2 separate regions of the Homo sapiens genome follow, and region 2 is linked to region 1. The links are contacts of gene promoters, found by promoter capture Hi-C in blood cells and fetal thymus (Javierre and others, 2016). All regions are on one chromosome and are shown on one strand. Each heading gives the region's core, a stretch centred on a gene start or on the middle of the fragment in contact. The rest is flanking DNA. Distances are from core to core; before and after follow the strand shown.

Region 1 (5,877 bases), core at 1,182-3,681:
CAACGGTTATGAATACTACAAACTCCCGCTCTCCAGCAAGCAGTAATTACCCCTCAAACACCAGTAGGTAGTGAAAGATGGCCAGAGCTGGTGCTGGCAGCTGATTACAAACAGCCAAGCGATCCCAGAATTTTCAGTCGCCAGACTGGGCCCACCTGTTTTGGAGCCCTACTTACCACGAAAAAATGGCAACTTGGAGCCCGCAACTCCCTGCATACTTTCCCTGAACCTAATCTTCATGCTACCTTATGAGAATTTACGCCAAACCAAAGGATAAGGTGAATAGAATTTAGGCAAGGAAGGGAGTATAAGGCTATCCTTTGGAAACATACATGTATTTTATATACTCTAATAAATCTCCAGTGCATGTTTGTGTCCCCCTTAGATATCCTAGACTTTGTGTTATTATTGATCACTTCCTTTTTATCCCTTCACCCTTTGCCTAATCGCGCTTAGCAAAGTGGCATTTTCACCCTAGCTTCGGGCGGTTGGGCCAATTGACTGTCCTCTGCTTTGGGGCTCCTGCTCTGAAGTCGTGCGGCCCCTGCGCGAGGGCAAATTTCAGCACCACGGACAGCACAAGTACACTCAGGCCCGCCCTTCTGCAATATTTTCCCAGCGCCAAAATTTTTTTGGTGGGAATAGAAAGGAAAGAGAGAGAAGGCCGGAGGCAACCAGGCGGGACAAAGGGGGAAAGTCTGTGGCTTCGGAGGAGAGAGCCTAACCTGCCTAGGAAACGCCTTGGAGTTCCCGATAACCATCCCCCGAACCCGGGAGGGATGAGCACTAGGCTCTCCCGGCTCCCGACGCTGCGCCCTGCCGCAATCAGTGGACAGCCGAATACTTCATTCGTTTCTGTTTCTGTCTCTGGTTGCAGAACCAGACTCTCACCACGTTCTTTTTAAGGTCCAGTTTCTCAGCGATGGCCGCGATCTTCTCAGATGAAGGACGTGGCTGGATAGCGAAATAGGCCTCGAGTGAACGCTTCTCCGGCGCCGCGATGGACGTGCGTTTGCGCTTCCGTTCGCTGCCGTTGAAGAGCTCTGGCTTGCTGTTCTTCTCTCGGTAGGCGGCCTCGGCCTCCTCCAACCAGGCCTGGAGCACCGGCTTGAGAGCGATCATGTTGTTGTGCGAGAGAGTGAGAGACTCGAACCTGCAGATGGTGCTTTGGCTCAGCGAGCCCACGCCGGGGATCTTGAGATTAGCCAGAGCCGCGCCCACGTCCGCCTGGGTCACCCCCAGCTTGATGCGCCGCTGCTTGAAGCGCTCGGCGAAGGCTTCCAGCTCGCGCGGGTCTGACTCCACGTCGCTGAGGCATGCAGGCATGGCGCTATGAGGGGCCACGGTGTGCGGGTGACTCATGCCCATGGCCTGGTGCAGGTGGCCCATGGCGCCCAGGTGGTGTGGATGGATCTGTGCGGGCATCACCGAGTGTTCCGGAGCGCCCAGGCCGCTCACACTCAGCGTGGGCGAGATGTGCTCCAGCAGGTCGCCTTCGAGGCCCTGGTGCACGGCGTGGTGAGGGTGTGAGGTGAGCGCAGCTGGGTGGGAGATGGGCACGGTGGACGAAGTGGACGTGCAGGGCACGCTGCTCATGGTATGGTAGGTGGCGTCGGGCTTGAACGGATGGTTCTTGCCGTGGGAGACGATATCCACCGCCGCCAGAGCTTCGGCGCGTGCCAGCAGGCTCTCATCAAAGCTTCCAAATATATTACCCTGCAGCTGCAAGCGAGAAGGCGCACAGCACGGTCAGTAGGGAATACTGTCAACACAGGATTAAAACACATTTTCAAGCAACCGAGATGCCTCTCCTCAAAGCCCAGGTCATAAAAATTAATACGGAGGCAGCGGCTCTGCTGGAACAGACGTGTGGATCAGAGACATGAATGAGAGAGAGAGCGCGCCGGGAGAGAACGCGGGGGAGACAAGGAGAGGGGTTCAGACAGCGGCGATTGTTCTGGGCGACATGAAAAAAACATGAAGCTAGTGCCTGTCAAAAAATGTGCCTTAGAGCGGTAATTATGCTCCACTACGTACCTGCGGGGCTGGGAGACAGACTCGGCGCATGGCCTCGGAGCCAGAGTGCAGACTGGAGAATTTGGGTTCTTGCAGCACCGGGTGCATGCCGAAAGGCTGCTTGGAGTTCATGGCCATCATCTTCGCGCTCCTGGCAGGGTGGCAGCGGGTGACATGGAATCAGGCTTGTCTAGCTTGCTTGCCGCTCTCCAAGTGAGCGCTGCTCAGCGCCCGCGCTCCCCTCGCCCTCTCGCTCGCTGCCTCCCCTCTCCCCCACCTGCTTCTTCACTCATCTTACAAGCAGCCTGCCAGGAAGGGCCCGGGCGCGCGCAGGCGTGCTCACGCGCCGGGGACTCGCAGGGGCGGCCCGGGAGGTGAGGAGAGACAGCAGCTAGCGGCGCGCCTTTCTGCGCCCGCGGCGGCCGCCCCCTCCACAGCCTTTATACCCGGGCCTGGCCTGGCCTCTCCCAGTCCGCCCCGCCCCGCTGGCTCCAACCCGCCAGACCTTTCCGATTCTTTCTTCTTCGTGGACTTCCCTTCCCCCATGCCACCCCAAAAGTCCCAACCTCTCCGTCCTGTCCCAGCTCGAACTGCCTGGATAAAAGGGTAGCCCTGGGCTGAGCTGGGGCAGGAAGTTGACCCTACTCCAACTTCCCCTCTCCACCACACACACACACACACACACACACACACACACACACACACACTCCGTCGGCCCGGCTGCCGCCAAACTGCCCATTTCCAGGGCGCTCCTGGCCTCACGCCCAAGCTGTCCACCAGAGTCCGGTCCCGCGGCGCAGCGAGGAGGCGCCTCCAAGCGCCCAGACGGGCCCTGGAGAGGGTGAGGGGCTGCCAGAACGAGGCCCAGGTGACCCCTGCCCCACCTCCCTCAACCGCGCTCCGGGGTAGAGGTAGGGGCAGTAACTGCCTTCTCAGTCCGGGGTGGCTTCCTCCCCACGCTTGCCTTTCTTTCTTTCATTTGAGGGATGTAACTTGGCCCACTCTTCCTCCAACCCTCCCGTCTAAGGAAGCTTGTGGAGTATTTTTTTTAGAATAGCGACTGTTCAGGATGGCCCTCCAGGCCTGGGAGTCCTTCAGTGCATTTCTGCTGGGCAGCCAGAGCTTGCAAGCCCATTCCTCGTGACAACAGCTACCGTTTAAGAGTTCCTAATATGTGCTAGACAATTTAGAGTTTGCCCATGGGATTCTCATACCCACCGTATGGAGTAGGTGATGTTATCCCGTTTTACAGATGAGGAAAACAAGGATCAGAGGGGCTAATGATTAGCCCATTCACTCACTCACCCAGTTATCCATCCATCTTACAAATATTTACTGACGGCCTGCTGCTTCCCAGGCGCCTTAGCCTCTTGGTCTTCCTTCTCAAAGTTTCGGAACTTGAGGGCTCTCGAGGTTAGCACTGCCCGCCTCCACCTCCCCTAGCCTCTTTTTCTCTCTACTTCCCTCTTCTTTCCTCTCCCTTGCCCCGCTCTAGTAAACATCGTGAATAATGGATGGGGAATCCTGGACCTCGACTACGCTGCACTCCGGTTCGGAGAGAAACCCCGCGCGTGCAGCTGTACCCCCTCGTCAGGGCCACTGCCTCCGCTGAGAGAGCGATCTTCGGGGCTTAGAGACCTCACCCTGCCTGTTATTGTGCAGGGTATGTGCGTGCCGGGTTTCCCAGAATCTGAACGAGGTGGGGTGGTGTGGTTTAGGGGAACATCCCTTAGTCCAAGAGGACGCCCTGACAGATCCGGGCTCCCTCTTCCCCTCGGCGCCCTCCAGTTGCTTTTCTCCCCATCCGAGCCAGCCCCCTCCGCTGGTTCCCGCCCTGCGATGGTGGGAAAAAGACTCAGCCCAGGTGCCTAGAGCCAAGCGCAACCCTTTCGCTAAAGCCCTCTGAGCCTCGGTTTCGGCGGCTCTTAAATGGAATTGCACTACTGTCTGCCTCCTTGGATTCTGGTGAAGACGTTCAGAGTTAGGGTAAGAAGAAAAGCATTGAGCCACGAAATTGGTGCTCAGTAAACTCCCTCACAACCTGGTGCCATAGCGCTCAGGCCCTGGCCTCAGATTCAAAATGCGCCTCTGCCTCTTGCTGGCTGAGACCACGAGATATTCTCAACTTCTCTGTACTGCGGTGTCCCCATCTGTAAAATGGGGGTGATCATTTATTTCCCATTGATTGTTGTGAGGAATGCACTGGGATAAGCACATGGCACAGTGCCTGGCGCATTGATATCATTGAATACATGTTCCTCTCTTCTTCCTCAACTTAAAGAGAAAGCATGTGAGAGTGGGGGTGGGCCAAGTCATCCTCCTGGAACCCGGTTTGTCTGCACGTGCATACTGTGGATCCTTGCTCTCCATTCACCCAACATCTGCATTGTGCCAGACCCCATGCCAAAGGCTGGGACACAGATGTGAATCAGAATCCATCCTGGCACTCAAGGAGTCACCAGTCTAATATTCACTTCAGAAAGTTAACTCTAAACTTGCCAAGCAGTAGAAGGGAGGTAGATTCATGAACAAGACACAGAGCATAAGGGTGGCAGGATTCTAGAAGTGCAGAATACACATCAGAACTATGGGCTGCAGGAGGGCTGGATTTGGGGCTGCATTCTGACACGGAGTATGGGTGACCCTGACTGGACCTCAGTTTACCTACAAGGAGTGGGCTGTATAAGATGATTGCTAAGCTTTAACAAGACTTCCAGCTTTAACAAGACTATCATTCTGGTTAATTTGAATGAAACATACTTTGAGCATGTCAGGAATTTATCTCCAGAGACACTCAACTCCCCAGAGCTGAATGCAGTATTTTATCACTCACTAGGATTTAAGACCAGTCTTTGTTTTCTTCCCAATGCTGGAAGCCCAAAGGGAAAAGGGGAATGAAACACAGGGATACACTGGTCTGTATTTTGCCTGGTCCCATGATGCCCTGAGACCCATAATCATTCCATAATACCCTAGTTGTCTGTGAAGCTGAACCCCTAGAAACTGGGAGAGAAAGGATTCATATCCATTCTCTTTTTCTGCTCTGTCCTCTCAGGGGTCTGGGAGATACTGGCCAGCATAGAGGTCAGGCATGAGTCAGAAACAGAGCAAAACTAACTGGTCCTCACATGCCTCCAATGTTGACCTTCACCTTACCAGCCCCTACTCCAGCATCCCCAGGCATTAGGATCACACATCAAGAAACACACCTGTGTCTGGTCCCATGTGTTTTAGGGTTTTTCCCATCTTCCCCTCTAAGAAGGTCTACTGGCAGTTCTAGGCAGCCAGCGGTAAGACAACACCCATCCTTAAGGACCAGTCTTTTTGAGAAGGCCTTGGAGATAACAGACTGGAGACTGGAGAAGAAAAGAGGGAAAAGACCATAGAAAAAGCAATTGGAAGGACAGCCTTAGACGGCAATTTGTAACAGCCTCTATGCTTTCCAGAATTTGTAAACTTAAATTCTATAAGGTGCAAAACTAGTAAAATAAAATTGAGCAACTTTATCTGGGTGGATAAAAGGAAAGATTGAAACTGTGGTAAACTAGAGAGCACTTACCCACCCCCCCCCCCACCACCATGGCATTAAATTACAATCACACACACACACACACACACACACACACACACACACACTCATACCATTTATGGGCCAAACAAAATATGTGAAGGTCCATGTAAGGACTATGTGGGCATTTATGCAAGTGGCATTGAAGGAAGAATTTTCCCCATTCGATAAGCATTTCCAAATACCTACTAACAGCAGAGTCTTGTGGAAGGCCTTGAAGATACAGAAGACACTGCTTCAGGAGCTCAGAGTCTAGTAGGGACATAGATTTGCCACATGTAAGGTGAAGTCAG
Region 2 (5,257 bases), core at 724-3,223, 76 kb before region 1:
AATAAATTGTGTGTAACAACACTGGAAACAGTGCATAATATACCATTAAATGGAGAAAGAAGCTTCCCAAAGTTTTCATATTATGATCTCATTTATATATAAATTTTATATAAAATATGTGTGTGTCCAGCCTGGCCAATATGGTGAATCCCTGTGTTTACTAAAATTAGCCAGGTGTGGTGACACACACCTGTAATCCCAGCTACTCGGGAGGCTGAGCCACAAGAATCGATTGAACCCGGGATGGGGAGGTTGCAGTGAGCCAAGATTGCACCACTGCGCTCCAGCCTGGGTGATAGAGTGAGACTCTGTCTCAAAAAAAAAAAAAAAATGTGTGTGTGTGTGTGTGTGTGTATGTGTGTTAGTATTTTTTAAAGTCTAGAAAAATAAACAACAAACTGGTTACATGGTAATTTACTCAAGTACTTGTAGGGAGAACCTATTTCTATTTTATACGTGTGGGTTGTATATATAAGTAGTGTTGGATTATTTTTACTGTACTCAGGACAGCCCTAGATCTGGTAAGGAGGAACCCCTACCTCAGATCTCATGTTTAGAAAAGACACATAAAAAGACAAATGTATTAAAGAATATATGAAATCAGGTGACCATTGCAGATACCCTAAACAATCACTTTGGTGACTAACACCATTCAGGCCATGGAAAATGCTCCTCGGTCCTGGAAACACAAGCTGACCACCCAAATGTTGTGAAGAATCACAGGTTGTGCTGCTGCCAGCATCACAAAAGGACACTGCTGAGGAATGTGTGTGCAAGGAGAATTTAAGCTGTGGAAGCATTTAGGTAAAAGACAAATTAATATACTTGTCAAATCTTTCTTCTCAGGTGTCATGAATGCTATAGATTCTTAGAAAATAACACAGCATATCCCGGGGTAACAAGCATCCATTTTCTTGCTTTCTTCAAGTTCCAGTTTGTGGGTAAGTACTCACAAATTACTGCAGTGTTTGCAGCAGTTACACATAGCAGCTAAAGAATCTTTTGCAATTTAAAAAATACTACTTTTAATTTTTTATACATTGTCTAGACATAGCATGCTTGAAGCATGAAACATTGAATATAAAAATTGCGGATAACTTAATGTTTATGAAAATATGTAATGAGTAAACTAAATTTAAAACTAAGTAAAAATTAAGCTTCATTTGAAATTTTTATTTAAATATTAGTATTCATTAATTACCATTTGTATTTTACCCTTAAGCTTCAATCAATAATTTTGGATATTTTAGCAGAAGAAAAATAACTTTTTTGACAAAATAGGAAATGTTTTTAATTTTTTAGTATTTTAGCATTTACTTTAATTACATTTTTGATGAAATATATTCGAATTTGGAACCCTTTGAATATGATTACATTTTATCTTAAATCTTTTTTTTTTTTAATTATACTTTAAGTTTTAGGGCACATGTGCACAACGTGCAGGTTTGTTACCTATGTATACATGTGCCATGTTGGTGTGCTGCACCCATTAACTCATCATTTAACATTAGGTATATCTCCTAATGCTATCCCTCCCCACTCCCCCCACCCCACAACAGACCCCGGTGTGTGATGTTCCCCTTCCTGTGTCCATGTGTTCTCATTGTTCAATTCCCACCTACGAGTGAGAACATGCGGTGTTTGGTTTTTTGTCCTTGTGATAGTTTGCTGAGAATGATGGTTTCCAGCTTCATCCATGTCCCTACAAAGGACATGAACTCATCATTTTTTATGGCTGCTTATCTTAATTCTTTAGCTGACCAAGAATGAGAACAAGTTAAGATTGTGCTAGACCTACAAAATATGAAAGTGAAGCTCAGAAAAATAAGGATAGAAAAGAAAAACAAACATATTCACCAAGGTGGTCAGCTGTAATTTGTTTAAATTGCGAACTCCTGAGCATGGCCCACATACAATTCATAAACAAACATTACAAATTCCCTGTTCAGTGAAGATTTAGTTACTGAGCAAAACAATGAAAATAAGAAAAGTATTCTGAGTAAGTCCACAACTTGAATAGATCAGATCAAACACCTGTAACTTCATGTTCTTTACATGAAGTTTCTTTCATGATTAAAATAAGACAATGAAAAAGATATTTTTATATCAAATTCACAACTCAAAAGAAACGAGTGCAAGTGGGTCTGCCCATTAGATGATAAAGAAATTATGGGGAAATTGGCAAATTTGACAAGAAAGATTAAAAACTTTTTGCTTCTTTACTGTTTATTGGAAGGTGATCCTAGAAAAGTTTGTCACAGCTTTCTGAAATCTGAGAACATTTCCAGAAAAATGTAAGTTGATTTAAATTATTGGTTATAAATTTTTCCTTGAATAAACTTGGCAGAAAAGTTAATATTTTGTATTATTGTAAGTTTTTTTCCCAATGGAGAAACTGTAGAAACTTTTTTAATATTCTAAGTCAAAAGACAAAATATTTTGTTACTATTATTACATATTTCAGTCTGTCTTCACAGTCAGCTTTGTCCAGTGAAAGAATCTGTGACTGGAAATACTTAGGTTCTCAATTAAAAGAATACAAAATGTTATTTGACCCCGACCCCAAAAAATGCACACGCAAATACTAGAATGGAAAAAAAAAAGCCTGAAACAACACAAATGATTAACAGTATTCAACAAATAAACAAGCAAATACAAATATACAATATCGCTGTGATATTCTTAAGAAAACAGTATTAGATGTGCCATACTTAGGCAAGCTTGTGTGGAACAGCAACAGTGCGATATTCATAGAAAACAATGGAAATGTTCTAGTCTAGTAGAAAAAATAACTTTCAAATGTGATGCCAAAATAGCCAAGCATATAACATAGATAAAAATGAATTTTAGGCCCAGCGCAGTGGCTCAGGCCTGTAATCCCAGCACTTTGGGAGGCCATGGCGAGCGGAAGACCTGAGGTCAGGAGCTCGAGACCAGCCTGGCCAACATGGCAAAACCCCGTCTCCACTAAAAATACAAAAAAATTAGCTGGGCATGGTGGCATGCACCTGTAGTCCCAGCTACTAGGGAGGCTGAGGCAGGAGGATTGCTTGAACCTGGGAAGCAGAGGTTGCAGTGAGCCGAGACTGAGCCACTGCACTACAACCTGGGCAACAGAGCTCTCGAGACCCTGTCTCAAAAAAAAACAAAATTGAATTTTAAAAGATCATATTTCTTTAAATGGAGAATTCAAAATACTATTAAATGTGATAAAAGATATTAGAGATACAATTTTTAAATTAATAGTAACTAATTTACGTAAATTATGTTAGGACAAAATCATATTGAGCAACTAATATTTATCTTCTGATGTACCATCATCTGATGATGGTGGGCAGGCCACACTTGCATCTGATAGTTCATCAGATGATAAAAATTGAAGTCAAAATTGTGTATGTTATTGATTTTATACCTATTGTAAAAAGTAGAATTGAAAATACAATTTTGAATTTTAGACATTGATTTAAAAGAATAATGATGGCAAGCTAATGATAATGGCAGTTGGTAAGGAACAAGCATTTATTATGAGGCATGTGTGATACATAGTTTGAATTTCTTATTAAGGGACATGTTCTCAGCTGTGTCAAATGGGTGATTGCATCTTCAGAACAATTAAACAACTACATAGGATATTTTCTGTATCTGTCCAAAGATGAAACAACTTGAAAAAGCTGTTATATGTTTGTCACTAAAACACTTTTGGACACACAAAGGGAATGCTGACTAAAAGCTATTAAAACAACAAAATTTTATTTACACCAGATAACAAGATGCACTGGAAGAGTATGAGAAATAAAAGATAATCCTTAAATAAAAAGAATCATGGCCGGGTACGGTGGCTCACACCTGTAATCCCAGCACTTTGGGAGGCCGAGGCGGGCGGATCACGAGGTCAGGAGTTTGAGACCAGCCTGGCCAGTATGGTGACACCCCGTCGCTACTAAAAATACAAAAATTAGCCGGGTGTGGTGGTGGGCGCCTGTAGTTCCAGCTACTCGGAAGCCTGAAGCAGGCGACTCGCTTGAACCTGGGAGGCAGAGGTTGCAGTGAGCCGAGATCGTGCCACTGCACTCCAGCCTGGGTGACACGGCAAGACTCCATCTCAAAAAAAAAAAAAAAAAAAAAAAAAAAAAGGATCATGATCTTTTTTTAGAATTTTAATTTTAGGTTTGAGCATACATGTGAAGGTTTGTTACATAGATAAACGTGTCACAGGGGTTGGTTGTACATATTACTACATCACCCAGATATTAAGCTCGGCACCCAACAGTTATCTTTTCTGCCCCTTCCCCTCCCCACTCCCCCCACCCCCAAGTAGACCCCAGTGCCTGTTGTTTCCTTCTTTGTGTTCATGAGTTCTCATCATTTAGTTCCGACTTATAAGTGAGAACATGTGGTATTTGGTTTTCTGTTCCTGCATTACTTTGCTAAGGAAGGAATCATGATCTTTGGCAGAAAATTATTTCTGAATCTGCACTATCTATGGTTATTTGGTAGAAACTGTTGTTTTTAATGATGTTAGCAAAAGCTTGCAGAAATTCTAAAAACTGGAACCAAATAATGAGTTTGGCTGTTTTGCCTTTTTACGATTAAATTTTTTTATAGAGAGAAAATAGTTACTCTAAATTGAAATAAACTGCATGTAAAATATGTAACAAATGTGACATTTCTATAAAATATGAGAAAATCAGAACAAGTAAACAAAAATGTTTGCATCACTATAAAAGAGAATATGCACATACAAATAATCCCCAAACTAATATCTGTTGAGATCACTTTAGGTTTATTAAAAATAAAAAAAAACTTACCAAAATATTTTCTGGATCTGGATATTGTTTTTAGAGAAGGTAAAAATTGCAATGTAAGTGATAGATTTATATTATGAAATTAAAATTTTTTGTAGTATTTTCTATCGTAACAACAATTTAAGACCCCATGATAGTATTTGAACTTTATATGTAAAATCCATTGCCAATTTCTGAATGTAAATGTTACAATAACTTTGACAATTTCAGTTGCTATTGACTTAACAGCAAGTTTTCTCCATGATGAAATTAATTTAAAAATAAGAATACAATGGCTAAGAAAGGGTGTTGAATTTGGCATTACTATCTTTGAACATAAATTATGTAAAAATCCTGATTGGAAGAACGTAACTGTAATTTTGCTAAAATGAAGACAAGAAAAAATAATTTTTATATAGCAAATATATAGTCATGTATGAATTATGTATGCCTTTGTTATTACGCATCCAAAC

What was found. The method cuts DNA at HindIII sites, captures the fragments that hold promoters and counts their contacts. A CHiCAGO score of 5 or more calls a contact.
Region 2: a fragment that was not itself captured here is called in contact with the fragment with the promoter of POU4F3 in region 1 in 1 of 17 cell types (megakaryocytes); the score reaches 5.2 in megakaryocytes.

The regions. Positions count from the first base shown.
Region 1 is chr5:146,335,393-146,341,269 of GRCh38, reverse strand. It overlaps POU4F3 (POU class 4 homeobox 3), which reads right to left and starts at 2,431. Exons shown (of 2, transcript NM_002700.3): 1 at 2,038-2,431; 2 at 1-1,722. The coding sequence starts at 2,157. The coding sequence ends at 826. RBM27-POU4F3 (RBM27-POU4F3 readthrough) reads right to left here. Exons shown (of 20, transcript NM_001414499.1): 19 at 2,038-2,167; 20 at 1-1,722. The coding sequence ends at 1,712. RefSeq lists a silencer at 447-647. The HindIII fragment of the contact is 1,348 bases long and covers 1,702-3,049 here.
Region 2 is chr5:146,411,487-146,416,743 of GRCh38, reverse strand. No RefSeq gene overlaps it. Among named protein-coding and RNA genes, the nearest start is that of TCERG1, 33 kb to the left of the region's middle. The HindIII fragment of the contact is 1,498 bases long and covers 1,225-2,722 here.